Linked DNA regions of Homo sapiens: regions 2, 3, 4, 5 and 6 are each linked to region 1. Evidence: promoter capture Hi-C in 16 types of primary human blood cells and fetal thymus (Javierre and others, 2016). All regions are on one chromosome and are shown on one strand. Each heading gives the region's core, a stretch centred on a gene start or on the middle of the fragment in contact. The rest is flanking DNA. Distances are from core to core; before and after follow the strand shown.

Region 1 (4,535 bases), core at 861-3,360:
TTACTTCCTTCCTTTCATTTAGGTTTCAACTCAGAAATCCTCAGACGGACCTTCCCTGTCCTGTCTACTTAAAGTAACCTCCTCTCCTCCACCTCTTCCATGTCATTGTCTGTCTCATTATTCTATTTTATTGGCTTGTCACTGTCTAAAAATTATCTCATTTGTTTATTGTTTGTCTTCCTCAATTAGTATGTAAGCTCCATTAGCAACGCAGAGTAATTTTCTTGTTCACTGCTATAACTCTAGTGGCTAGAACAGTGCCTAGTGGAGAGTAGGTACTTAAGAAAGATTTGCTGAATGAATGAAAAAAGACACCAGTCTTGATAAGCTTCATGACATATCACCTTAACAGTTACCATCTATTTTTTTTTTCCTACCTACTGGCCATACCTCCTCTTCTAAGCATTGCATGTTGGAATTCCTCGGCTCTGTGTCCTCTGTCTAAATTCTCAGTCAACTTTCTCTCCCTAAGTAATCTCATTCAGTCACATGGGTTCATTTCTTATCAGTAAACTGAGTCCTAAATTTATACTTATAGTGTAGTTCTCTTCTGCCCCATAGAGATCCACTTGAATTTTACATAGGCACTTATACATCATTCTCTACGGCTTATTTCAATAACTGGCATCAACAACCACAGAGCTGCTCAAAACTGAACCTCTGAAATTATTCTTAACTTCTCTCTCCTCACTCCTGGAGAGCCAACCACCAAGTCCTGTTGGTGCCACCTTCTAAACATCTCTGGAATCTTTTTTTCTCATCATTACATTCTCTACACTAGTTCAAGCTACCATTATCTGTCACACAGATTATGGACTATTGCAATGGCCCCTTGATAGGTCTTTCCCCTCTCACGCTTATCCCTTCTAATCAATTATTCACAAAGCAATCATTTAAAAACACAACCTTCCCAAGCTCTCAACATAAAACCCATGATGTTTAAGCGGTTATTGGCCCAGCAGATCTGATCCCCACCTTGCTCTCCCTTTTACTTTCCAGCCACACTAGACCTCATACAGCTCCCTCGGGTTTTCAATAGCTTCAGACCTTCACGTGTTATTACCTCCGCCCTGTACACCTGCATCCTCCGTTTTCACCTGGTTAATGTCCGCTCCTCCTTCAGAGCTAGTGTAACTTCCGGTGGAGCCTTCTCCTATGATTTCTAGTCCCAATTATTAATACTTGCTTGATCATTTGATTAATGCTTTAAGCTACGTATGAGATTGGAGAGGGTTCAGAGTGTACATTTTATCCCAATCCCCCCACCCTCCCCCGCAAAGCCTGTCCTATGGAAGTCCTTCGGGTAAAAAAAACAACGAAGAAAACAAAACAAAAGACAAATGAAAATTCGACTGGGGTAGTGGGAAAGATTATCTGTAGCTACACGACCATTGAAAACACATTTTAAAGATGCAATTTGGGACCAGGGACGGGGGATAGTGGCGTGTTGGAAAGGTCTTTGTGGCGACGAACTTTCAACCGAGGGCCAGGATCTGAGGGTTCAGAAATACACTGCCAGGACTATTATCACCTTTAAGTCATTTACTAGTTTTTAACTTCTGCTTGTCTGCGACAGCGTAACACAGGAAGCAGCTGCAGTCTTCTCAAACCGCAGCCGCTGACCTTAGCGGCAAGAGGCCCGACCTGCCCTCCAGGCGCCCGGCGCTCGGCTCCCAGAGGCGCCGCGCAGCTCCCTCAGCGGCAGTCACAGCTGGCCAGCGCGCACCCGGCACGCGCGCCCCCAGGGCCTCTGCGCGCGGACCCGGCTCTCAGGCGCCGCGGGAGAGGCCCCCTACTCACGGAGCGCGCGGCCCGTGCGCCCACGCTCCGACCGCATTCCTCAGTACGTGGCACCCTTGGAAAGTGCCTGTCTGGTCAATCGAAGAGTCCTCGTTTCGACCAAAAAAATTCCCCTCAGAAATATGCATGGCACGGCAATGAAGGCATTTCACTATGAAGTGGAATGATGATGGTCCGACCAGGTCAGGACGAACATATGAGGGGTTAGATCTAAGCAGGCACTATTAAAGACAGTCGCATCCGGGCCCTCCTGCCGCAAGCTGCCCTCCCAGCCAAGGGTCCTTCAGGTAGGAGGTCCTGGGTGACTTTGGAAGTCCGTAGTGTCTCATTGCAGATAATTTTTAGCTTAGGGCCTGGTGGCTAGGTCGGTTCTCTCCTTTCCAGTCGGAGACCTCTGCCGCAAACATGCTCCGCCAGATCATCGGTCAGGCCAAGAAGCATCCGAGCGTAAGTTCGTGACCGCTCTCCTAATGTTTTCCCTTGTCCTTCTTGCGTCGGGGTGCGCCTCTTTCTGTTCCCTGGGAACGTCCTCATTTACAGCCACTTACCGTCCGTCAGACCAGACCCTGCCTCGCCTAGTGTTTGTCATCTTAGTTGTCCCAGGCCTCTGTGACCCTCTACGCCATGCATTGTGGGGTTTTGTCTGACAGGAGGAAGGAGACGGACACTGCTCGGAAAAAAAACCTAGTTTTTTCTAGTTAGTGAATATTGGAACAGTCTGGTGGCCGCTCTCTTTTGCAGGTTGTGCGGTCCAGGAGGGATAGATGTGCGCTGTGTGGGTCAGAGACTAGCATAGGTCAGGTTCCCTATGTGTTATACCATCTCTGGAGGTTCTTGTATTCGCCGCATTGCACCACCAGGCCTTTTGGTAAATAAGAGGGGTCCGTGATCTTGGAATCCTCACTTTGTCTGGACGTCGTTGCTTTTGGGAAAATTTCGAAGTGTGGAAATTGCAGTTAAGTTCTTTGGCATCTCATTTTTCCTCAGCACATCAATGTGCTGTAGAGCTAAAAGTCTATGCAATCTTTAATCTGTCTTAAATCCGGTTCCCTAAATACGCAGCAAGCATTGGTAGCATTACGTTTTCAGAGATAATGCTTAAAGCCAGTATTTGTAATAGATACGTTTACTTATTCAGATTCTATTTTTCATACATCTTTATAGAGGCACCCTTAAATAATTTGCAAAGAATTTGTTTTTCAAGCCCCAGGATAAAGGAAGCCAGAAAATTTAATGGGAATGACATGTAAATATTAGAGAGGTGAAGAAGACTCGATACATTTTCTTGGAAATTTAAAAATGTACCTATAATTTGCTCCACATTAAAAAGTAAGACACTTAAACCAGAGTCATCTTAACATCCTTTCCAAATTCCATTTCTTTCTTTAGAACACAGTTATAAGAAATCTTACCTCAATGTAAGATCTACTTTATTTAAATTTTAAGACAAAACAGTCCAATAACAGTTTGAGACTTGGAAATCAATGTGCAGAAACTACTGTAATCTCTCGTTGGCCAGTGTTTTAAGTATTTGAAGATGGTTATTCTATTTTGTGTTTGGTTTAGTTGATCCCCCTCTTTGTATTTATTGGAACTGGAGCTACTGGAGCAACACTGTATCTCTTGCGTCTGGCATTGTTCAATCCAGATGTTTGGTAAGTACTTAAAAATGTTTAAAACTTTGATAGCTGATCAAGGCAGTTTAGGAGCCACAGTCTCTGTAGGGCGATAACATTAGGGTAGTAGAAAGAATGTTACATTTACAGTCATACAATAAGTTCAGATCTCAAATCTGCTGTTTTCATTTACTTTTTTTGGTTCATGAAATTATCTAATTTCTCTGAGTCTCGTTTTCTCTTTGGTAAAGTAGAACTGCTAATACCAAATCTTGTAATGTTTTGAGGATTGACATAAAAATAATTGTTTTTATAAAATAATCATGGTTCTCGGCACATGTAAATGTTTTTTGCCTTCACTTGCACATTTGCAGTTGAAAAACAATAGACAATCAAAAGATTGATTCATCATTATTCTATGCACTTTTCTGTATATCACTTTATTAATTAAATGGAAAGGTTTTGTGAAAGCCAGATAAAAAGTATCTTGTGATAGGGATTCTGTGTTCTACCTTTTTTCTAATTGATTACATGAGATTGCTTATTATAGATCCTCTACCTGTTTCAACTTCATAATGAAATAACACCATACCTCATCTAATAGAAAATAAGATTGATCTGTTCAAAAATGTATTCTTAGTACAAAACACTAAATAGTGCTTTATTATTATAACAGTCGTAATGTTTTATTTCTTTTAGTTGGGACAGAAATAACCCAGAGCCCTGGAACAAACTGGGTCCCAATGATCAATACAAGGTAAACTACAAAATTGTTTTAAAGTTGTTAGAAATTGTGTTGTAATAAGTTTTGTCATGGGGTGGGTTTTCTTGAAACTGGATATACGAGTAAAATTCCATTATATTGAACTTTAAAGAGCTGTTAGGTAGTTCTGTGAAATGAAAATGGTATATTGCTCTAATAAATATTTTTTGCTAGGTATTTAATTGCTAGTATAAGAAAAGAAGGAAAAATAGTATAGCTATCATTTACCATTTTCTTAGTTCTTAGGTAGTCTAACACAGTGTTCTCAAACTTCATTATACATAGAGCTTGTTGAAACACAGATTCTTCAGCCTTATCCCCAGAGATTCTGATTCAGCTGGTCTTTTGTGGGGCAT
Region 2 (4,535 bases), core at 1,251-3,750, 7.0 Mb before region 1:
AATTTTATTTCCTTGTGTAAATGGGGCCAGCAATACTTACCCCATGAAGTTTAAAGGTAACGCACATAATGTGCCTGGCACAGAGGAGGCATTCAATAAGCATTAGTTCCCTTGTTCACCCAAGTGAACTGTCAGTGTGGGTGACTGTCAGAGGTGAGAAGCACCTGTCAAACATCCCCAGGGCAAAATCCACCCCAATCCAGGTGACTTGAGTTATTCTTTGATGCAGATTCCTAAGCAAAACACCTACGTGTACTCCCTTAGTTTCCAATTTGACCACATCCTTGGATTATATTAGCTATCGGAACTCTCTGGAGAGGTTCTCAGGATTTTCAGAGTAACTGTTCACTGTTTCCGGTCCATAACTGTCTTATTCATCCTTATTGCTATTCATTGCTTCCTTGGTTTTCTTTTCTGTGTAACCTGGTTGCAGTAGGGTTTTTTTTGTTTTTTTTGTTTTTAGATGGAGTTTTGCTCTTGTTGTCCAGGTTGGAATGAAATGGTGCGACCTCAGCTCACTGTAACCTCCGCCTCTTGGGTTCAAGCAATTCTCCTGCCTCAGCCTCACGAGTAGCTGGGATTACAGGTGTGTGCCACCACGCCCAGCTAATTTTGTATTTTTTTTTTAGTAGAGATAGGGTTTCACCATGTTGGTCAGGCTGGTCTTGAACTCCTGACCTCAAGTGATCCACCCACCTCGGCCTCCCAAAGTGCTGGGATTACCACTTTGGGAGCCACCACACCCGGCCACAGCAGGGTTTTGAGGTCACCCTTTTCACCCAGAAATCTTAATCTGCGTGTGTGTGTGTGTTCTAATCTATAACACCTAGGACATGATTTATTAAGGCCATAGTCCTTAGAGAATTGTAAATCAATTGGAGATCTACTTAAGTAATATCACTTAATTAAAACAGTCCCCTCATTCTGAAGGGTGGGGGGAAAAAGAGGGCAAACATTCCTTAGGTTAGAAACTTTCTATTCTCAGTAAGTAGAGTTAGAGGGCATTTAATTCAGGGCATATATTGCCAGCTGCTGTAACAGCCACCCATAATAATAAAAGAATTTGTCACTCATGCAAAGTCCAAAGGTATTTTTTTCCTGATCTAGTAGATGGGTTCTCCTGTGCGGTTCCTTCCAGTTTGAGTTTCTATTATCTCAATCTGTAGCATCCAAGGTCACCTTGGAAGATGGAGAGATGGGAGGATTGCTACACTCCTTTGATGTAAGCTAGTTAGACCACCCTGCCCAAATAGGTAGAGCATGTAAGCTCTTTCAACATCAATGAGGAAAATGAAATAATTAGGTGAACACATAGCATCGTCATGCTACAGATTGATTTAGAGAGATATTATGAAATATTGCCTCCTCCCCATAAACCAATGACTCACAGATTAACAACCTTCCCCTAAAGACAAACATGAAATTTAGAAACTCAATTATATTTTCACAGTGTAGAATTTCAGCATTACCAAATTTTCTGGCATATCCATAAAGTTCAATGAATTACTCAGAAGAACAGACATAACTTCAAACAAAGTAAAAGCTCTTGTTTAAGAAATCAACAATCTTTTACAGAGTACTACAACAGAATTAAAATCATAATAATATAGAACTTAACTTTAGGGCAATAAAATTACATTAAAAAGTAATTCTGTAATTCCTATTTTAAGCTTGGGATAGCCAGAATAACTACTGTTTTTCCATGCAGTTTTAAGCACAGTATATACCAAAGTAATAATTTGTAATATTTTGTCTGTGATATTTCTCTCATCAGTTTCCTGTGGTAAATAGAGCAAAGAGTAATATATAAAGATTAAGAAACAATGGCTTGTATTTTAATTATATGATCAGAAGATTTAAAGAAAAAGCCAGATCTCATCTATTTTTCTTCCCTTTTTTGAGGCTAAATTACATTAGGCAAACATGTAAAGGGTTTAAGTATCTTCTGTGTACCTTCTAACCACTAGATGTTGAGCGATAATTGATGTTCCTGATATGAATTCCATAACCTTATGCTCTCTAAATTTGAATAGTTAGCCCATTTAAGATTTAATGAATAAAATAATATGTAAACAAATGAGCATATTCTATGATTGTATAGACAGATTATCTGGTAAATAGCCAATGGGGTACCTCTACCCAGAAGGCAGACATGTCACTTAAAGAAACACAGTTAAAAAACATGAATTCCTTCATTCATCCTTCTGCCACTCCTACCAATAAAAACAAACACATCCCATTCAAAGCAGAACATTTAGCTCTCTGTTAGCAACAGCAAGAACACTTCCCCAGCAACAGGAAAACTCGAAAAGGACATCTATTTTTAAAAATAAAATGTGAAGCCCTCAGCATTTTGCTGATTTAGTGAACAAGACAGAATACAAATCTTATCCATCGAGATTAGGTGAACATCCCATAGATTTCAAGAACAAATAGCCTGATTTTACATGTCTTTTATTTGATAATTTGATTTGTCTTTATACACCAGGACTTTTCTTGACATTTTTGCTGATTTTTCTGTTCATGGATATTTGCACATATGGCCATTATAAGGTAGGAGGTGTCTCATTTTAAATAGAAAGGTGGTAATTCAAGGAGTTCATTATCATACACAAAATAGTTCACAGCAGTTTGTGCCACTGCTTGGTAGCAAGGTTTTTGTAAAAAGGTGATGATGCATATGTTTGTTGAAGGAAAGTGATAAGAAAATGAACTGCAACTTACTTTCATTAAGTATAACAGTTTTAACACGAAAAGAAACCTTATGAAGCATTTGATCTTGAGCCACAAGGCATTGTCCAATGATTACAATAATAACCCACCGTATTAATGTAGACAGTATATTAGTGTTACTCTAATTATATGTTTTAATTTCATTACTTTACAGAAAAGGAAACTGAAGCTCAACAAATGGTGATCTTTCATTTCCAAGGTTTAATCTCATTAAACAGCAAAGGCAAGGCCACAGTGCAAATCTTTCCACGCTTGTATTCTTTTTATTCCACAGCCAATATTATGGGGCATGTGTGTAACATCTCTTCCATTTAATTGTATATACATTTATTATAAATAGTTTTCAATTTAAAATTTTCATTCAAAACAAAAAGATCACCATATATGCAAGGGTGAAGACATGCCAAATTAACTGTGCAAATTATCATATTATCATTTAAAAACAACAGCAATTCTTAGAATAATCTCATTATTTTACCTCAGTTGTTAAAATAGTAAAACAGGAAGCAATATAATGACAGCCTTTGATTTCACCCTTCTTCTGTAAAAATGAAACCAGCTGAGGTAAGCCTTAAATATAGGCACGTATTAAGCTTCATCTATGAGTACTGATTCCTTTTCTCATTTCCTTCTTTGGCTAAAGGCAAAAACAGGAGTTCAAGGACCCACCACAACATTTATGATTCACATTAAAAAATGAAGGACAAAGATGGTTGAAAATTTTTAGTTCTTAAAGTTAGCTTAATTAATATACTTGACACAGTACACACACAATTCTGTATCATACAACTTCACATGACATATATACGTACATATAGATAAGTTTATACATATACACAGTTATGTATAAATGTATATATATAATTTTTTCTTTAAATATTGGCTCTTCTACTAGCTATGTAAACTTCAGCAAAAAATTTTAACTCTCTGAGCCTCAGTTTACTCATTTGTAAAATGGAAATAACAGTTTCTATCTTATAGGATTATTGTGAAGCACTTAGAACAGCTACTAGCATATGGTAAGACTTTAACAAGTATTAGGTAATTAGGTATTATAGAGAAATCGATTACATATTATATATCAATATAAATATCTCTATGATTCAAGTGAAGTTTATTCAATACAATGATCAGTTGTTTGGGTCTACAGATAAATATGTAAAGGCAATTTTGTTATGTACTTCTCTTTTCCTTTATGTTTTAGGGCTATGAAACTATTCTGTATGATACTATAAAGTGGAGACCTGACATAATGCATTTGTCAGAACTTGCAGAACTTTGCAGCACAAAGAGTGAAAATGTATGCAAATTAAAAATCAAATCATTTAGGAGGTAGGCAGATCTCAGGAAAGAATGCTGACTTTGACAAGAGAATTTAAATGTATTGCAAACATATGAAACAACCTCAATGAAAGGGTTGGGAGAAAAGGTGCTGAACTAAGTGACTTTAGGAATGATTTGTCTATAAGACTGAAGGGACTGCATGTAGGCAATGTACTCTAGTTGATAAATTTGTTTCCAATGGGAGTATGGGTTAACAATTCTGAAATTGCCATATATGTATTTTCAAACTGAACAATTAAGTAAATGGATGGTAGATGTTAGGTGTCAGTTTCTCACTGTTGAAGTGGAAATTACATACAGATAAGCTAGGGGAAGAGACTAGAATGATCCATCTGATAATGGATTAGAGTTGGAGATACCAGTATGAATTCACATTTAGCTTAATATAAATACAGATGATTACATGCAGAAATATTTATACATAGGCATATATACATGGGTTAATATACAAGTATTTA
Region 3 (4,535 bases), core at 1,254-3,753, 6.4 Mb before region 1:
GCTGGCTCTTTGCAATATTCAGCCTCACACTAGATTCTGAGGCTTGCTTTTCATAATGCAAAATTGTCTACATTTCTAATGCATTACTATGTGTCTTACAAAATATTTAACATGAGAGCAAATTTCCATTGTCAAGTAACATAATTGCTTATACTTGTTTGCCTAACACCCTTATTTCTATGTAAGCTTAAATCATTTTTGTATCCTTAATGCCCAGCATAATAGAGTGGATTCTCAATTAATGTTTGCTGACCAAAAGTGCCAAGAAAAGGAATGATCACAACCTGACCAAAGGCAGTGACAGTGAGGTTAAGAAAGGACTGGCTTGAAGAGAGATTTAAGCCAGACTCAAATGTTCACTGAACTAAACTAACTCACTATAGGAAGTAAGGAAGAGGAAACCATTGAGTGAGGAGAGGTTGCAAATGGTTCTGCGATTTGTAGCTCAGAAGAACAACTACATTTCCTAATGAGAGCTGTACCAGAAAAGGAAAAAAGTGGCTTGAGGATAGACCTCAGTAATACCAACATTTAGGTATAGGGCTATGGAAGAGGCATAGACACAGAGAAGAAATGATAGACGGAAAAAAACCAGGGTAGAATATTTTGGAGGTCATAGAAGAAAGTCAAATACACAGAGGAAGAAAGTCAAATACACAGAGGAATTAAGGTCAGGGCTAAGAAGTACCCTCAGAACTTAACAATTCAGATGTACTGGATTTGAAGCTTTTAAAATGTCAGATTGTTAAAGCTAACAAAGGTAATGCATTTGACCCACTTTTTCACTGATTTTGTGAGAAATGTACAGATTTTGTTAAAATATTTAATATCTATCCATACATCTTGAAGATATACAGAACAATTAAAAATAGAGTAATCTTACATTAACTGCACTTGACTTGGATTACGCTAATATTTTTACTTTTGTATTGTCTTCGAATCTTTAAGAAAGGACACTGCTAACCATTATTTAAGGAAAAGCCTGTTTGAAATATAAATAAACATCCCTGTAAGATTGGATTTGGGAGCTCTGGAGTTCAAACATCTCCTGAAATAGACCGTATGATGTTGGTCAGGCAAAGGAGTAACTTATTATTTTTTGAAACCTTTACCTCAAAAATCTTGTCCCAATCTGTAAAATTGTTATGAAATCAAGACTCCAGCTGACTGCATGCCATGCTTCTGTTTAGAAGCCCTGCAAGCTTTAACTGCTGGTGGTAACAGGCCCAACAGTATGCCCAATGCCAGTCTGAATGCTATCTTGAAAGCCTTTTTAACATCTCCATCAAAAAAGTCTATGAGGTTCATCATTTGTAGCCAGTGTTTGAAGCAAAGCTGAAAAAATTAACCAAGTTTACTCATAAATATAACTGTTTTATATAATATTCATTATAAAACCTCAAAATGACATGCAAAGATATGGTTTCAGTAATCCTATGAGATCAAAGTGACGTTTTTTAACAAGAGATTGCCTCTCACAGTACTGAGTTTGCTCTATCGGATTTTTCCTCGGGGTGATTTAATCTACTCTTACTGCGTTGGTCTACTTACCCATAACTTGTTTATCTTTATTTCCAGTCCCTGTACCTGACCCTGTGCCCTTCCATTCAACATTCCCCTGGAGTTGGGCACCCGCTTCTCAGCACTATGGTGCTACTCTCCATCTAACAGCTAGGAAATCTGAAGTATTCCTCAATAAAATCCCCCTACCATACTACCTACACCCAATAAAGCCCAACTCTTAACCCCATTCATTCTTCATTTCCTTCCCCCAGCTTCAGTGCATCCGTATTTATCTCTGAATATAAATTTCAAATATTTACAATCATAAACTATGTGCTTAATGTAATGGAGGTGACACATAGCACAAATAGACCCCAACTTCATTGTCAGGCTGAACACAGCTGGATATTTTATTTCCCTATATGAGTCAAAAACATCTACAAAAACTTCTGAGAATTCTGGCTGGAAGCCACTTTTAATGAGTCAGAAGTCTTCTGCCACCCTCCTGCTGCTGCCCTATAATTGTGATGAGTTCTTTCCTTTCCCTTTTGTTTGCTATACCTGAGGAGAGATGATGAGATATAAACAGCATAGTTTCTAGCACAAGACATTAGCAGGGAAGATCAGGAAAATGAAATATGGCCTAGAAACCACTACTAGTTCCATAATCCTGGAAAACTCATTGTTTCCCCTCCCCCTTCTTCTACGCAAACACACATTTTTATTCCCCCTCGAACCCGCATAAAATGTATCTGCCTTACCAGAATCACTAAAACATTACCAAAAAAATTTTAAGTGGTAGTTAATTGTTAAATTAGTACATCTCAAATATGTACTAAGTGCATGGTACTGTACTGGGAAGCTCTGGTAGTTTCAAAGACAAATAATAGTCCTATCTTTAAAGACATTCTTTTTCCTACTAGGAGGAAATATATTTTATAACATGGCAAAATCAAGCATAATATATTGCTCAGTAACACAGGTGCTGCAAAAGAGTTCATGGAGATGTGGCATCTAAATCGGGTCTTAAATACAGGCAAGACACTTCTGTTTCTGTGACGGCAGAATATCTAGCTTTCTGCAACTACCCTTCTCTTCCAGAAAACCACACCAAAACAAGAAAAGCAGGAGCCAGAAACACAAACTCTGTCTCCGATGAACCTAAGTGACAGCTAAACCCAGATGCTAATAAACAGGAAGATGGTAGAAAAGAAATCAATAATAGCATAGAACAGGAAGGCAAATATAATCACAGTATATTACTTAGCTAAACAGTAAACAATATACAGTCAAAAATAATACAACACTAATGTGTATATAATCCAAAATTGTGATAAAATATATTGGGAGGATGCAGGAAGGTGAAAAAGGTTAAAGTGAGACAAGACAGCACTAAAATCCCTAACTACCACAGTAAGACATCAAAAGATAAGGCCTCACATGCTATACTTAAGATGTGCCACATATATAATTGACTTTTAAAATCTGCCAGTATTATTTAATAGGAATACATTTTAAAACAATATTTCAATAGAAAGAAGTAAAAAGAACAAACTAAAAGATGACTGAAAAATGTAAGACAAAACAAATGAATACGTAAAGGACACCCTAAGTAGAAAATCTGCAAATACAAGTGCTTCTCCTATACATAACCATGATCCCAACATATAACTTTAATTACCAACCACACTTTTGCCTATGAAATTGACAATAATATTTTTTAAGCAAAAATGCAAAGATATAGTCACATCCCCAGATTGATGATGGAATGTAATTAGTAAATTTTTCTTAATTTGATACTATCTCTTGGAGTGTACGATTTGGTTCAACCTTAAAACAACACATACTTTTCTATCCCAAAATTCCCTTACAGGAATTTTTTCCTAAAAAAATAAATTTGCATTAAAATTTACACGTCCCAAGGGTATTCTCTGAAATATTAAAGTATTAAATGGTTGGGAATAAAATTTCCTCCCAAAAGAAAAACAGTTAAAAAAATTATAGAATATTAGTACAACAGAGTATTATGCAGCCTTTAAAAACAATGTTTTAAAGAGGAAGGGAGGTGGGTAGCAAATCAATAAGACAGGAGAAAAGACTCTAAGAGGAAAGGACGTAAAAACACAAGTATGGGGATGAGCAAGTACAAATTATGTATGGGAAATGACAAATAATTTATTTCAGCCATAACACTATCTGAGAAGAAACAGTGAAAATCCCTAGGATATGGCTGTACTGTATGCATCACTGAATCTGTTCACCTGGACAGTACGAACACAAGTCAGTAAGAACACAAGCTTTGAAGCAAAAAGACCTGGGATCCAATATCCAAACTCTTTCTCATTATCTGAGCAACTCTGAATTTGAATCTCAGTTCCCTATCTATAAACTTAAATAATACTACCTTTCTTTAGTACTATTATAAAAATGAAGAAAATGATGTAAAGAACTGGGCAAGCTTGTATCAGAATAAGTGCTAATAAACAGTCATCTTTTGTCATATTAAGCCACTAGCAAAATATCAATTTTAAAAGAAGCATAAAAGTAGAAAGGTACTGTTGTAAAAGATTTGTATGGTATTTATTTCTAAGTAACTGTCTTAATTAAATACATGAGTAAGCACGTACTATGTAAATTTATTCACCAGTGAAGTAGCACATTTCAGCCGTAGCCGTAATTGAGAACATAATCGTATACTGCCTCTTACTGTTTCACGGGCGAATTGATTGTTCTGTGATAATGTAAGCTAAAAGAATAGAATTTACGTTTCTGTTTCATTTGTATCTTTAGCAGTCTTCACAGTTTATATATATATATATATTTTTTTTTTGTTCTGTTTTAGTTGTGAGAGTAGCAGTACAGGTGCTGACTGTCGTGCTTTATTGGTCAAGAAACTTGCCCAGATCTGTAACAGTGAAGAAACTAGACCTCATTTTTTAGTTTAGATCCAGTGCTTTCAATTTATACCTGTTTCCTCTTTTTGCCATTTAATGTTACCTATAACTAAACACTTTCACTTACTTCATTTCATA
Region 4 (4,535 bases), core at 1,071-3,570, 5.7 Mb before region 1:
ACTGTGGTTCTGTAAGAAAAGTATCTTATTTTTACAGAATAAATACTGAAGAAATAAGAGATAAAGGCAGAAAGTGTATGCAACCTACTCTCAAATGATTAAGAAATAAAACTGATTATGTACACATAGAACCCTGGAGCAATGGCAAACACAGGAAGCCATATGTATTTTAGGGCATGGCATGGTGGCTCCGATCTGTAATCCCAGCACTTTGGGAGGCAAATATCATATGATCTCACTCATGTAGAATCTAAAAAAGTTGGTATCACAGAAGTAGAGAGTAGAATAGTAGTTTCCTGGAGACAGGAGAATAGGAGTGAGGTGGGGATGGGGAAAGATTGGTGAACAGGTACAGAGTTACAGTTAGGAAGAATAAGCTCTAGTGTTCTATTGCACAATAGAGTTATTATAGTTAACAATAATGTATCATATACTACAAAAGAGCTAGAAGAAAGGATTTTGATTGTTCTTACCAGAAAGAAATGATGAGTGTTCAATGTAATGAATATGCTAATCACCCTGATTTAATTATTACACAATGTATATGTATATGGAAACACCACACTGTACCCCACATATGAAAAATTACTATATGTCAGTTAAAAACAAAAATGTTACATAGTAACTTAAGTAATTTAAAAAAACATTTTCCAGCATTTACCCATCAAAGTAATTTCTTCCTTCAATAAAGAAAAACTATGAACTAATAATGCTTCCATTAAACAAAACCCCTTTTAATTAATAGATTTATGAAACTTTTTTTAGAATTTCCTCTGGAGTCTACAGATCATTCTTTTGACTATACTCAATGATGAGAAATTTCCTTGTTTGATAGAGGATTTAATTTTAGAAAGTCGCCAGAGATCATTCAGAGTCTAATCCATTGAAAAAAGTAGGTGGCCACTTTGAAGCTATCTGGTGTGTCCAACCAGGTTTTTATGACAAAATACTGAACAGAAGCAAAAAAGTAGGTGATTAAGCTGAGAAACAACAGCATCTTTATTTGAAAGTGAGAGGTAACCTTTAAAAATCACTGATTATAAGGTCAGCTCATCATGTATATTATAGAATATTTAAGGAAAAATTAGAAAAAATCTATCAGTCTAACTTTCAGTAATGACCACTGTTCACACTTAAACACAGTATAGTATACAGGCTGGGCACGGTGGCTTATGCCTGTAATCCCAGCACTTTGGGAGGCTGAGGCAGGCGGATCACCTGAGGTCAGGAGTTTGAGACAAGCCTGGGCAACATGGTGAAACCGTGTATCCACTAAAAAAAAAAAAAACAATTAGCCAGGCATGGTGTTGCACGCCTGTAACCCCAGCTACTTGGGAGGCTGAGGCATGAGAATCACTTGAACCCTGGAGGCAGAGGTTGCAGTGAGCCAAGATCATGCCACTGTATCACAGCCTGGCTGACAGAGCAAGACTCCGTCTCATAAATAAATAAATATCATCCGTTTTTTTTTGGGGGGGGGGGGTTATATACAGAAAAAAATTAAAATTAAATTCTACCATCTTTTCTCATATTATGCTAAAATACAATTTAAAAATGATTTGCATTTGGACTTGGAGTTATATAACTTGATTCAGTGATATTCTCTGAATCTTTATTTTAAAAGTCATCTGTTCCATTGCATCACTTTAGGAAAAGCAGAAACTCTTATAGAGAAGGAAATGTCCTTGAAATTTGTTAATAATATTATAATTTTAAGCTTAGAAAAAAGCAAGATGGTCTCTATATTATTATTATTACTTTTTGAGACAGAGTCTTACTCTGTCACCCAGGCTGGAGTGTAGTGGCACAATCTCAGCTCACTGCAAACTCTGCCTCCCTTGGATTCTCGTGCCTCAGTCTCCCAAGTAATTAATTTTTGTATTTTTTTTTTTTTTTTTTTTTTTTTTTTGTAGAGATGGGGTTTTGCCATGTTGGCCAGGCTGGTCTCGAACTCCTGGCCTCAAGTGATCTGCCCACCTTGGCCACCCAAAGCGATGGGATTACAGGCATGAGTCACCATGCCCAGCCAGTCTCTATATTATTTTAACTAGTGATTTAAAACTTTAAAGTAATAACACACTGATGGCAAAAACAAAACAAAATCAAACAAACAAAAAACCCCAACACAGTACAGAAGGGTAGTGCTCTTCCCAATCTTTCACTCTTGACCTTATATCCTAGCCCCACTCCATGGAGATGATAATAATTTAAACCCTTTAACATCATCCTATGTAACCTTTTAGAAAATGCCTATGCATTCGAGATTTTCACCTCCACTGAAGACAAAAGTAATATTTATTATTAATGAGTATTCTCATCTCCAATGTTCCTTCCTCCAGAAAAGTGCTTTTTCACTGGAAGATACCTAAATACATGTTGAGCTTTACATAGTAGAGGAGAAAGATGATTTTATATGAGATTTACTTTCCACCTAGAGGAAAGGAGCTATGGACAGCACACACAACACTGGCCTTGCTAACTGAGGTGAGGAGAACCAGGAGATGAAAATCAGCAAGAAGTGGAGTGGCAATGCCAGAGAGCAAGTTAGTTTAAGACAGACACAAAACTGATGGGAGTGTTGGTGACTATTACTCCAGTGGGAAGTCAGAAGACAAGTTATTAAAGTAAAAGAGTGTTGAAGTGTTTGCCTCTCTTCAGAGGATTTTTAATCATGGAAAAGAGGAAAATAAAATCTTCAGAAAAAAAAGAAATAAAAAGAAAAGTAAGGCCTAGACTGGTAGACAGTGAGAGAATTCTGTTTTGGAGCAATTGCTTAAAAATCGTAATAGTGGACCTTCAGGAAGCTCAAAGGTGGTGGTGGGCATGAGTCCAAATATTGGCTCACTTACTAGTTCTCTCAACCAAGAAACTCCCATCCTCCCAGAAGGGGACCTGCCCAAGCCTGTCTAGCAGGTGAAGCTTTATTTGAAGGGCTACACACACACACACACACACACAAAGTTACTTTCCATATGCATGCTTATTACATAATGAGAGCATGAACTGGATAGAAATGCCAAGCCTAGTCTAGGGCACGCTGATGACATGGGACTGGATTCCCCAACACAACTTTACAGAAGTGGACCATACAAAATTGAATTAAAGGAAATAAAAAAGAACTAGTACAGAGCTACAAGCTCTCTGAATCATACATTTTAAAAAGGTTTAAGCCAGGTATGGTGGCTCATGCCTGTAATCCCAGCACTTTGGGAAGCCAAGGCGGGCGAATCACCTGAGGTCAGGTGTTCGAAACCAGCCTGGCCAACATGGTGAAACCCCGTCTGTACTAAAAATACAAAAATTAGCCAGGCATGGTGGCAGGCGCCTGTAATCCCAGCTACTCGGTAGGCTGAGGCAGGAGAATCACTTGAACCCAGGAGACAGAGGTTACAGTCAGCCAGTCAGCCGAGATCACACCATCGCACTCCAGACTGGGCAACAACAGCGAAACTCCGTCTCAAAAGAAAAAGGTTTAAACCTACAGAGAATCATTCATTTATTTGTTTGCCAAATATACCAGGTCTGGTACTAGTCAATAGGGATGCAGCAAGCACTAAATCAGGCAAATTTCATGGAGGTCACTTTCTAGCAGGTGGAGCTTTGTTCCAAGTATTGCACAATCGGGCAGAACAAGTTAGCAAGCACTGATTGTCTCCAGTATGTTTAAAGACAACATATGATGCATTCGAGATGCAGTTGTGTTTATTAACGTTTTAATAATTAAGTGCGTGTTTTTTTACTTTGTAACTTACAAGTGGCATCCACGCGGAATGGAATACTTTGAAAACCATGGATGTAAGCCCAGTCCCTAAGCTAACCTTCAGATAAGGCACTGAGATGTCAAACCACTTGGCTGAGGTCAGGAATTCCATTCTAGCATTGGTAAGACAGTGGAGATCAAAGCAGAACGATCCCTGCCCATCTGGAGCTTATGTACATGGAAGAGTTGGGGCCAGAACCTGATCCACTGTCTCCACTCAGTGCATTTTCCAAGGAGCCAACTAAAGCTGTTGCAATGTCTTAGAGAATTATTTATATGATTCTCGAAGACAGCTTTTTCATTATTTGCCTCATAAATTTTATAGTTTGGAATAAGATGGAGTAGCGCATAAATATTAATTTAAAGTTGAGTTCAGCACTTGGATAAATTGAATTAGCATATGTTACTTCCAAAATACCAAAGAGTTCTCCATAGAGTTCTATTAAGCGGTGGGGGGGAAAAGGCATTTATCTTTAGAGAGAGAATTTAACAATATTGCCTCTTAGGGACATACGAATATTAGAAAATTTATGGCACCATAATTTCTAGCACTATAGGATACAGTTTTTAAATTGTTTCCTGCAGAAGCTCAACTCTAACACAAACACAATCTTCACACTCCCAAATACTAACACCGCATCCTTTTCCTCCAGCCAGCAGTTTCCTCTGCACCGACAACTAGGGGTTCTCTTTCCTGTTTATAATAGTCCCATTCAATTACCTTGTTCACTGAGAAAAACATATAACATTTCTTTTTTCTTCTTAGAAATGACCA
Region 5 (4,535 bases), core at 1,163-3,662, 5.7 Mb before region 1:
AATAAGGTTTCATGTAGAACTGGCTCGCATGCTCACACACACAAGAGCTTTGCCCTTGCATAGCGATTCAGCCAGTGATACTAACTGCTTTCAGATGGAATACAGGGTCAGAAAAATGCATTATTTATAAAAAAAATAGCTGCTATCATACTCCAGGGACGTGTAGATCATTCACTTGACATTTTCCCAACAGAGCTACTTCTCTATCTAGGAGATGTTTCTGTTTTTTCTCTGTTGGTGAGGGGAACTCAGGTGACTTGCTTAAGAAGTGGGTCAGAGAGAAAAAAGCATGCTAATCTTTATTTTGCATTTCACCTTTAACTCTAGAAGGCTAGCAGAGTTTAGCACAGTCTTGCACTACAAGTCTAAATTTAAAGAGAGGAAATAACCTGATTGGGAGACTTACCTATTCTTTTATGTTCTTTTATAGGAGAGGCTTATCTTAGCCTTTCTCCCTCAGCACATTCAATTTCATTCTTCTCTTCCCAGTAAAACCAGAAATTTCTTGGCAAAATGTGTGGCTGGCTTGTACTAATGATAATAGCAACATTCTCTCCTGCAAGTATGCTTCTGTCATTATGCCTTATAGAAGACTGGAAAAACCTGACAACTTTGGCCCAATTATAGCTTCTTTCCAAATTTACAGAGGAGTGACCTTAAGGTTTACATTAGTTGACTTTCAGGGTGGTGAGTACTGATCATAGAGCACTGTAATGTAGTACTAGGCATTGAAGATGTGTTTCACCTAAGTATTTCCAAACCAAGCACTCTATTATAAATATGTCATCAATTCACAAGATGTGGTGCTGACAAATTATATAAATACTGACTGCATTTTGAATTCCAAGTATTACATTGACTGGAATTTAAGCTTCAGATGGTGATTTGGATTAGATACCCTTTAAGATTTTTTTTCAGTATTAAGTCTTATGCTTTGTGGTTATTGTATTACCGCCAAAAGGAAAATGTGGCCAATGTAATATACTTTAAGGTCAGTGAAAATAAAAACAAGATGGAGCTATTTTTAGTTTCTGTAAATCTATTCTACTGGACAATTACTTTGTAAAATAAATAGTATGTGATTGGATGTTTCATTTCTTAGCAACCTACACTGACTAGATGTACTCTTACAGATAACTCCTTAAGGTTTATTTCCTTGATGTTAGATTTTTCTCTTATTCTAGTGACGAATAACCTTACTTTTCATCTTTTTTTTTTTTTTAGGTACTGTCCAAGAAGCTGGAACATTATTATCCAGCAAGAATGTTCGTGTCAACTGTTTGGACGAGGTAAGATTTTAGAAGTTTAATAAAGGATTTTACTTCCTATAAGAAGAGATAATATATCCTTTTTTTTTTTTTTTTTTTTTTTTTTTTTGAGATGGAGTGTTGCTCTTTCGCCCAGGCTGGAATGCAGTGGCACAATTTTGGCTCACTGCAACCTCCGCCTTCTTGTTTCAAGTGATTCTCCTGCCTCAGCCGCCCAAGTAGCTGGGATTACAGTCACCCACCACCACTCCTGAGTAATTTTTCTATTTTTAGTAGAGACAGGGTTTCACTATATTCACCTGGCTGAGCTCGAACCCTGACCTCATGATCCTCCTGCCTTGGCCTCCCAAAGTGCTGGGATTATAGGCATGAGCCACCACGCTCAGCCTTCAAATCTCTTAATACAAGTTTTTTTTCTAGCATTTTTGCTCATATTACACTAATAATTCCTAAACTAAATGTAAGCAAATAGGTCATAAAAGAAAAATAAGCATGTAAAAATAGTTTAGTCTTATTAGTAATCAAATAAGTGCAAATAAAGTCAAAATCATATTATTTCTTGTCAAGCATGGGGAAAAATGGACTTTTAAATGCTAATGGTTAAGTGTAAATTGATGTACTATTCTGTAGAAAATTTTGGAATATGTATCAATTTTAACTGAGTATATTATTTGATCCAGCAACTTCAGTTCTAGGGAAAGTTAAGTGAACCTAAACTCAATTTCCTAGAATAGTTGCTTCTAAAATAAGTTTTGGAAATGGTGGTAACATCTGAGCATTACAGTAGCCATTGGCCATGTGTGACCATTAAACACTTCAAATAAGGGAAGTTTGACTGAGGAAATGGATATTTAGATTCCTTCATTTCTTTCGGTTATTAGCAGCTTTATTGAGGTATAATTAATATATAATAAGCTATACATATTTAAGGTGTAAAATTTGTTAAGCTTGACATATGTATATACCTGTAAAACCATCACTATAATCAAGATAACGTAGATATCCATTACCTCAAAGATTTCCTCATACCCCTTTGTAATCTCTCCTTCCTGCCCTTCCCCACCCACTCCTGCAAAAAGCATTAATTTGCTTTTAGTCACAATATATTAGTTTGCATTTCCAAGAATTTCATATAAATGAGATCACACAATAAGTACTCTTTTTTTAATCTAGCATCTTTTATTTAGCATAGAGATTCACCCATGCTGTAGCATATATTATTCCTTTTTCTTGCTGAGTAGTTTTTTTTGTTGTATGTGTATACCATAATCTTTTTATCCATTCATCAGCTGTTAGAGTTTTGGGTTGTTTCCAGTTTGGGGATGATTACCATAAAGCTTCTATGAACATTTATGTACAAATGTTGGTATGGACATCTGTTTTTATTTCTTTTGAATGATTTATCTTCTCTTTATGGGTTGTATGTTTTTATTCTTTCCATGTTTGATTGTTTTTTATTGGGTGCTAGACATTGTCAATTTTACCTTACTGGGTGCTGTATGATTCTGTATTTTGATAAATACTCCTGAGCTTTTTTTCATGAACACAGTTAAGTTACTTGGAAGCAGTTTGATTATTTCAGTTCTAGTTTTTAATGTTTGTTAGGTGGAACTAGCAAAATGCTCAGTAAAGGATTTTTTTCCTGGTGTTGAACTAAGGCACTTCCTTGTCCTCTATGCAATGTTCTCAGATGCTTGAGGTTTTCAAGCCTGGCTGGTGGGAACAGGCACTCTTCCTGGCCCTGTGTGAGCACTGGATGCTATTCCTTGTAATGCTGTCAGCTAGTTATTTGCCCAGGCTTGGGTAGTTTCCACATACGCGTGTGTTGATCAGTACTCCAGCCAAACACTCTGAAGAAACCCTCTGCAGATCTTTAGAATTCCCTTTCTGTGCAGCTCTCTTCTCTCTTTTACTCTTCCTGGGAACTTAAGCCAACTTGGTGACCCTGGATGCTCAACTCCATCGCCTCAATGCAGTCTGCCAGGCTCAGTCTGGCTGACCTCTCCATATACTGTAACCTATAAACCCTCTTAAGGTTATAAGCTAGGCAATTGCAGGAGCCAATTCAGTTGCTTTCCCTTTCTCAGGGATCATGTGTTTTATTGCCTAACCGACAGTGTCTTGCAAATTGTTATTTTGTCTGTTTTTCTGTTACTCTAGGAAGAAGATAACTCTGGTTTCTGTTACTATATCTTGGCTAGAAGTACCGGTTTCTAATTTTGTTTAATTTTAATTAATTAGAAGTTAAATTTAAATAGCCATATGTGGCTAGTGGCTACTATATTATATAGCACAGTCTAGTGCTAAAAAGTTCATTGAACTTCAATTTCTCATGCAGAAGGGAAAGGGGTTCTGTTAACTCTTTACCCACACATGGGTAGCAAAATTAATATCAGACAAAATAAAGTTTAAAGCAAAAAATAATTATATGGATATTCTGTCTTATATATTAAATTAATAATACACCAAGAACATAATAGCCTTAAGCCTTTTCTTATAAACTTATCAGCTATAGGCATTGAGGTTCATAAAGAAAAAAATGATGGTGCTCAAAGGAGAAATCTGTAAGATCGCAATAGCACCTTTTAGAAACTAACAGATTAAATAGAAAAAAAGTAACATAGGATGTAGAAAATTTGGACAACCCAATTAACAGTACATGGACTGTATATTAGCAGAAAAAAATAGTATATCTTCTTTACATGTAACATTGATAAAAATTAATCCATGTATTATACTATTTTATAACGGAAATTGTAGCTTATTTCAGACAGCTTTGCTAAATGTAGTATAATACATTCGAAAAGAAACAAAAATATAATCCAAATAATGAAGCACATATCTTGGAATTTGTTTTTTTGTCTCTAAATAATTCTCAGGTTAATGAAGATATAGGAATAAAAATTGCTGACTGTTTACAACTGAAAATACAACATTTATCAAAAGCTTTGTTTGCTGGCCAAAGTGATACTCAAAAGAAATTTTGTAGTGTTTATCATTGCACTTTTAATCTTTATGGTGTTCTGAGCTTTCAGTTCATGAAATTATTAAAAGAGTAAGTATACTAAAAAAAGAAATGATTTAGAAAAAACAGAAATAAAAAATTTTAAAAGCAGATAAACATAAGCAACAATATAAAAATAGATAAGCTGGAAATAATCAAAATTAAAAACTTTTGTGTTTCAAAGCGTACCACCGAGAAAGTGAAAAGACAGTCTACAAAATGGGAGAAAAATTTTATAAATTATATCTGATAAGGAACTTGTA
Region 6 (4,535 bases), core at 2,036-4,535, 5.5 Mb before region 1:
AAAAAATTAAAGGCATGCCAAAGCCAGGTTATGAAATCGTGGTATACATTTAACAAAGTTATGCTTTAAACATTTATAATACATTTTTAAATTCACAAGACAAAGGATTTATTTTAAAAGTCAATACTGGGGTTCTAGTAACGAGACATAAAGTTGAATGAACAGTGCCTTATTTTTTCAATCATATTACTGCATTTCTAACTACGTATAACTTCATTTGCAGATTATAGTCCAAATGAGAATCTTCCTCAGTGTGAAGCCTGTATTAGTTTCCTCTTGCTGCTATAATAAATTACCACAGATTTAGCAGCTTAAAACAACTCAAGTATGTTATCTTACAGTTCTGGATATCAGAAATCTGAAAATGGGGTGGCAGGGCTATATTATTCTGCAGGCTCTAAGAGAAAAACCTGTTTCCTTGCCTTTTCCAGCTTTTAGAGGTTGCCTACATTCCCACCCCTCTGCACTCTGATGGCTGCTTCCATCCTCATACCTCCTTCTCTAACTCTGACCTCTCTCCTATAAGGATGCCAGAGATTACACAGGGCCCACCTGGATAATCCAGGCTACTCCCCTCCATCTTGAGATCCTTCACTTAATCACATCTGCAATGTCTCTTTAGCAGTGTAAGGTAACATATTCATAGCTTCTGGAGATAAGAGCATGGGCATCTTTGGGGAGTCATTATTTTGCCTACTTGGAAGCTCAAAATGGAAACCACTCCAGGAACTTCCAACTCTGCATGCTCTGCCTCATGATTCAGTTGGGGTTTATTTTTTCTAAACTCTTCAAGTGATATCTTAGAATTGTTATTACCAATGGGTCCCAGAGGAGTTCACTTTTCAGGGTATGTACTTTCACATGCCTGATGCAGAGAAGATATTCTCATATTGTGGCTGCTATAACTTGGTATTAAGTAACAAGGAAGCTACATCTGTTACCCCAAAGTATGCAAAACATGGAACTAATTATATTTATATAAAAAGGACAGAGAGAAAAATGTTGCTTCATACTACGTATATGAATGAATACTTTAATGTGCCCTTTTTTCTCTACAAGTTGGTCTGCTAGACATTGTTAATATACAGTATATAAGATCTAAGGATCTAAGGATTCATGGAAGATCTAAATTGATATATCTGCTCTAAGAACAAAACTAAGATTCTAGTTAAAATTTGTCAATGTTTAATTATATAAAATTATTCTATAGCAATTAGTATAACAAGAGCTTTATTACTCTACTTTTCTTCACTCAAGATTAAGTAAAGGAAGAATACCTTTATAACAACTCCACCTTTAGATTAAAAAGGGAGGTTTAAAGATCAATATTAATAGAAATACTAATTCGATTTGCCTTCCTGCTCTCATAGATAGACTCATTTATTTATCCACCCAGTTAGTCAACAGATATTTAAATGCTTGATACAGGTGTGGTAGTGGCGCTATGAAGTCAAGTATTGTGCCAAACTTGTTTAATATAGTTGCTGCCTGGGCATCCATTTTTAGGCCTGATATAAGCTGTTTGAAACCCAGTTGTATCACGTCACCTGTGGCCTACTTAAAACTTCCCCTCCCTGTGATATAGAACACTTATTCCTCATTCCATGACCAAAAACCCAACAGCTGCTAACCATGATAAAACCCAATGGTCAACACCAGAGTCAAGTTCTCCCTTTGCTGGTGTTTTCTTTAAACTAGTCAATCCACAACCCCCTCTGGAAAGCCTAAGGGATAAAGCCTTTGGACCTTAACACAGCCCCACAGGTCCTCTCTCTTGCACCCCACCTGCTGGTTGGGAGTCCTGTTATCTCCAGACTTCCATCAGGCTTATTCTCTGGTGAATCTGTAAGTAATAAAATGCGCCTGTTATTTCACATGTTTTGTGTGCTGCCTCCTCTGGCGTCTCACCTGCACACCAGAACCTAGCTTTCCTCTCTGGGCCAGGGCTCTCCTGAAGAGTGGCTGTTCTGGCTTATGGCCACTCGTAAGAGAGAGACCTCGAGATCAAATTAGAAAGGAACGATAGCAATAAAAATTACAAGGAAGTATATTATGGCACCCACTTTTCAGTTAAGAAACCAACTAGCACAGGACCTAAATGCTAATTATAATAAAAGTAACAAAAGTGAAAGAATGCCTTCAATAAGACTAAACAAAAAGGAAAAGCAGAAAACATATTTTTATATGCTCTCAAGAAAACAGGTAAAAATAAAAATTGTAATACTACAACTAGATAACATTTCCAGTGTTTAAAAAGATTATTTTTTATTAATCATAAGCCACTGGATTAAGACTGAATTACTGATGATTATACACTTTAATGATCATTAATCTATTTAATCAGCAATTCATTCAATACATATTAAGCTTGTGTTACATTCCAGGAGCTGGGCACACACACACAACCCAAGCCAAAAGAAAAATGTTGCTGCTTGCATGGAGTTTACATTCCAGGGACCTAATACAATAGTGCTCTCCTCCAAATTCTCACTATACTTTCATGGTAAACCTCACCAGCAACAAGAGTACTAAATAAGGTAAGATATGCTTTAGGCCTGGAATTCTTCAACTTTGGCCTACTTCTGTATGAGGGCCTTAAGGCTCCTCTGCCATTAGTTGTGCAATCTTACATAAATTAACCATTTTAACGTCTTTTCCCCTTTGTAAAAAGGGAAATGGCAATAGTTGAGTTCTTCTGGGGACTAAATGACATAAGGTGTATCGATTGTTCAGCAATTAGTATTGCTTTGACCCTATGGTTCCAAAACATGCCTGCTCATCAGAATCACCCGAGGATCTTTAAAAACATTCCAAAGTCCGGTGCTCACCAGACCAATTAAATCCCAATCTCTGAGCGTGTCAGGACACGCTCCCCAGGTGGTTCCAAAGTGCAGACAAGTTTGAGAGCCACCACAGTTTGGATTATTGATGTGCCACAATAACACTTGCTAATCCATCTGTCTTTACCCCAGGTGGAACCAGGAAGCCTCCAGAGCTTAATGGAATTCAGATAATCGAGGTGCATACGCACCCTACGTCCCATCCTGTGACTTGAATCCCAATCTCTTCCGAAATTTTAAAGCAGGGAGGGATGGGACAGAGGCCTGACCTCTCCTGCATACTCATGGCCCTTGAGTATCTGCGATCTTTAGATATGTAGGGCGTTCTGACATTTCCACTTGCGGCGACAGCTGGGCCTGCCCGGGGGAAGCGCAGAGCGGGCAAGTCAGCCCTCCCGCAGGCGCTGGGACCGGGTGCGGAGGCCGCAGCCGAGCCGCGAGGGCAGATCGGCAGCCTCAGCTGCTGCCGTAGCTGTCGGGATCGTCCCCTGCGGGGCAGCAACAGCGGGGCTCCGACGGCTGAGGGGGGCGCCTTCTGCTTGCGCGCTCTGCGTCCCTCTCCGTGGTCTGCCCTTCGCCCCGCGACCCCGGCCGAGGGTGGGAGCAGCGCGGGGTCGCATCGGCCCGAGGCTAGCGGGGCTCGCCGTTCCGCCCGCAGCCATGGAGGCCGGGCCGCCGGGCAGCGCCAGGCCGGCGGAGCCGGGTCCTTGCCTGAGTGGTCAGCGCGGCGCGGACCACACGGCTTCCGCCTCCCTGCAGAGCGTGGCCGGGACCGAGCCCGGGCGCCACCCGCAAGCCGTGGCAGCTGTGTTGCCTGCCGGGGGGTGCGGGGAGAGGATGGGGGTCCCCACCCCGAAGCAATTCTGCCCCATCCTGGAGAGGCCGCTCATCAGCTACACCCTACAGGCCCTGGAGAGGTAATGCGGCGCCGGGCGCGCCCCGCGGTTCCCTGGGGCCCGGCCTCCCGCTCCCCGCCCTGCCGCTGCTCTAGCGCTAGCACCTTCACTTGGGGGACTGCCGGGCCGCGCTCAGTTATTCAAGCTTGAGCTCTGTTCCCTCCCGCATTTCAGAGATGGGAAGTTCTGGCCTTTAACAGATGGGCACGAAAGCTGCAGCTCCCCCACAGAGCCCTTTACGTCCCCAAGCAGATGAGGTTGTGGGGAAGGCCCGTCGTGTGGCGCCGATTAGAGAGTGCATGGGTTGGGACTAGGCGATTTGGGGTTCTAGCTGTGGGGCCTGAGGAGAAGCTGTGCGGATAGTCTCGCGGTCCTGGGGCTCTGCCTCCGCGCATGCGTGGATTGAGTTGTACGTGCACACTGAAGTTTCCAGGGCGTGTGTTCGTTTTTTTCATTCATTTACTGAGCACCTTCTGTGAGACAGGCTGCGCTAATTACTAGGTGCTGCAGGAGGGGAGAGGAGCAGAATTTAATAACCTTTCAATGGTGGAAAGGGCTTTAAGCCTGAATTTGAGGTCATACCCCCTTTATCTTAGAAAGGGCACTGAAGTTAACTAGTTGGGGAAATGAAGGAGACAGGGAATGGGATAAGGAGGACTAGGGGAACAGTCGTGAGGAGCTGAGGAAGTGAAATGAAGGGGTATGTTATAATATTAACTTACTTTGCTTTTAGCACTGAGTAATGAGGTGGAGCTTGGGGCGAGGGTGCAGGGGTGGGAAGCAGCGGCATTACAAATAT

What was found. The method cuts DNA at HindIII sites, captures the fragments that hold promoters and counts their contacts. A CHiCAGO score of 5 or more calls a contact.
Region 2: a contact is called between a fragment that was not itself captured here and the fragment with the promoter of COXFA4 in region 1, in 1 of 17 cell types (activated CD4 T cells). The highest score is 7.0, in activated CD4 T cells.
Region 3: a fragment that was not itself captured here is called in contact with the fragment with the promoter of COXFA4 in region 1 in 1 of 17 cell types (total B cells); the score reaches 5.2 in total B cells.
Region 4: a fragment that was not itself captured here is called in contact with the fragment with the promoter of COXFA4 in region 1 in 1 of 17 cell types (non-activated CD4 T cells); the score reaches 5.3 in non-activated CD4 T cells.
Region 5: a contact is called between a fragment that was not itself captured here and the fragment with the promoter of COXFA4 in region 1, in 1 of 17 cell types (non-activated CD4 T cells). The highest score is 5.3, in non-activated CD4 T cells.
Region 6: a contact is called between the fragment with the promoter of CRPPA here and the fragment with the promoter of COXFA4 in region 1, in 1 of 17 cell types (non-activated CD4 T cells). The highest score is 7.1, in non-activated CD4 T cells.

What each region holds. Positions count from the first base shown.
Region 1 is chr7:10,937,728-10,942,262 of GRCh38, reverse strand. It overlaps COXFA4 (cytochrome c oxidase associated subunit FA4), which reads left to right and starts at 2,110. Exons shown (of 4, transcript NM_002489.4): 1 at 2,110-2,247; 2 at 3,367-3,455; 3 at 4,116-4,173. The coding sequence starts at 2,206. LOC107986767 (a long non-coding RNA gene) reads right to left here and starts at 2,007. Exons shown (of 3, transcript XR_001745091.3): 1 at 1,532-2,007. RefSeq lists a silencer at 1,578-1,827 and enhancers at 1,053-1,973, 1,858-2,127. The HindIII fragment of the contact is 7,174 bases long and covers 331-4,535 here.
Region 2 is chr7:17,945,571-17,950,105 of GRCh38, reverse strand. No RefSeq gene overlaps it. Among named protein-coding and RNA genes, the nearest start is that of SNX13, 7.3 kb to the right of the region's middle. The HindIII fragment of the contact is 1,656 bases long and covers 1,673-3,328 here.
Region 3 is chr7:17,302,600-17,307,134 of GRCh38, reverse strand. The region is part of intron 1 of AHR (aryl hydrocarbon receptor); the gene reads right to left. Among named protein-coding and RNA genes, the nearest start is that of AHR, 6.2 kb to the right of the region's middle. The HindIII fragment of the contact is 2,598 bases long and covers 1,205-3,802 here.
Region 4 is chr7:16,651,458-16,655,992 of GRCh38, reverse strand. All of the region lies in intron 1 of BZW2 (basic leucine zipper and W2 domains 2), which reads right to left. Among named protein-coding and RNA genes, the nearest start is that of BZW2, 7.5 kb to the right of the region's middle. The HindIII fragment of the contact is 1,202 bases long and covers 1,720-2,921 here.
Region 5 is chr7:16,633,145-16,637,679 of GRCh38, reverse strand. It overlaps ANKMY2 (ankyrin repeat and MYND domain containing 2), which reads left to right. Exons shown (of 10, transcript NM_020319.3): 2 at 1,225-1,289. Among named protein-coding and RNA genes, the nearest start is that of ANKMY2, 10 kb to the left of the region's middle. The HindIII fragment of the contact is 390 bases long and covers 2,218-2,607 here.
Region 6 is chr7:16,420,288-16,424,822 of GRCh38, reverse strand. CRPPA (CDP-L-ribitol pyrophosphorylase A) reads left to right here and starts at 3,285. Exons shown (of 10, transcript NM_001101426.4): 1 at 3,285-3,757. The coding sequence starts at 3,501. It overlaps LOC105375168 (a long non-coding RNA gene), which reads right to left and starts at 4,137. Exons shown (of 5, transcript XR_007060223.1): 1 at 3,841-4,137; 2 at 1,786-1,843. RefSeq lists silencers at 3,475-3,614, 3,635-3,694. The HindIII fragment of the contact is 1,514 bases long and covers 2,370-3,883 here.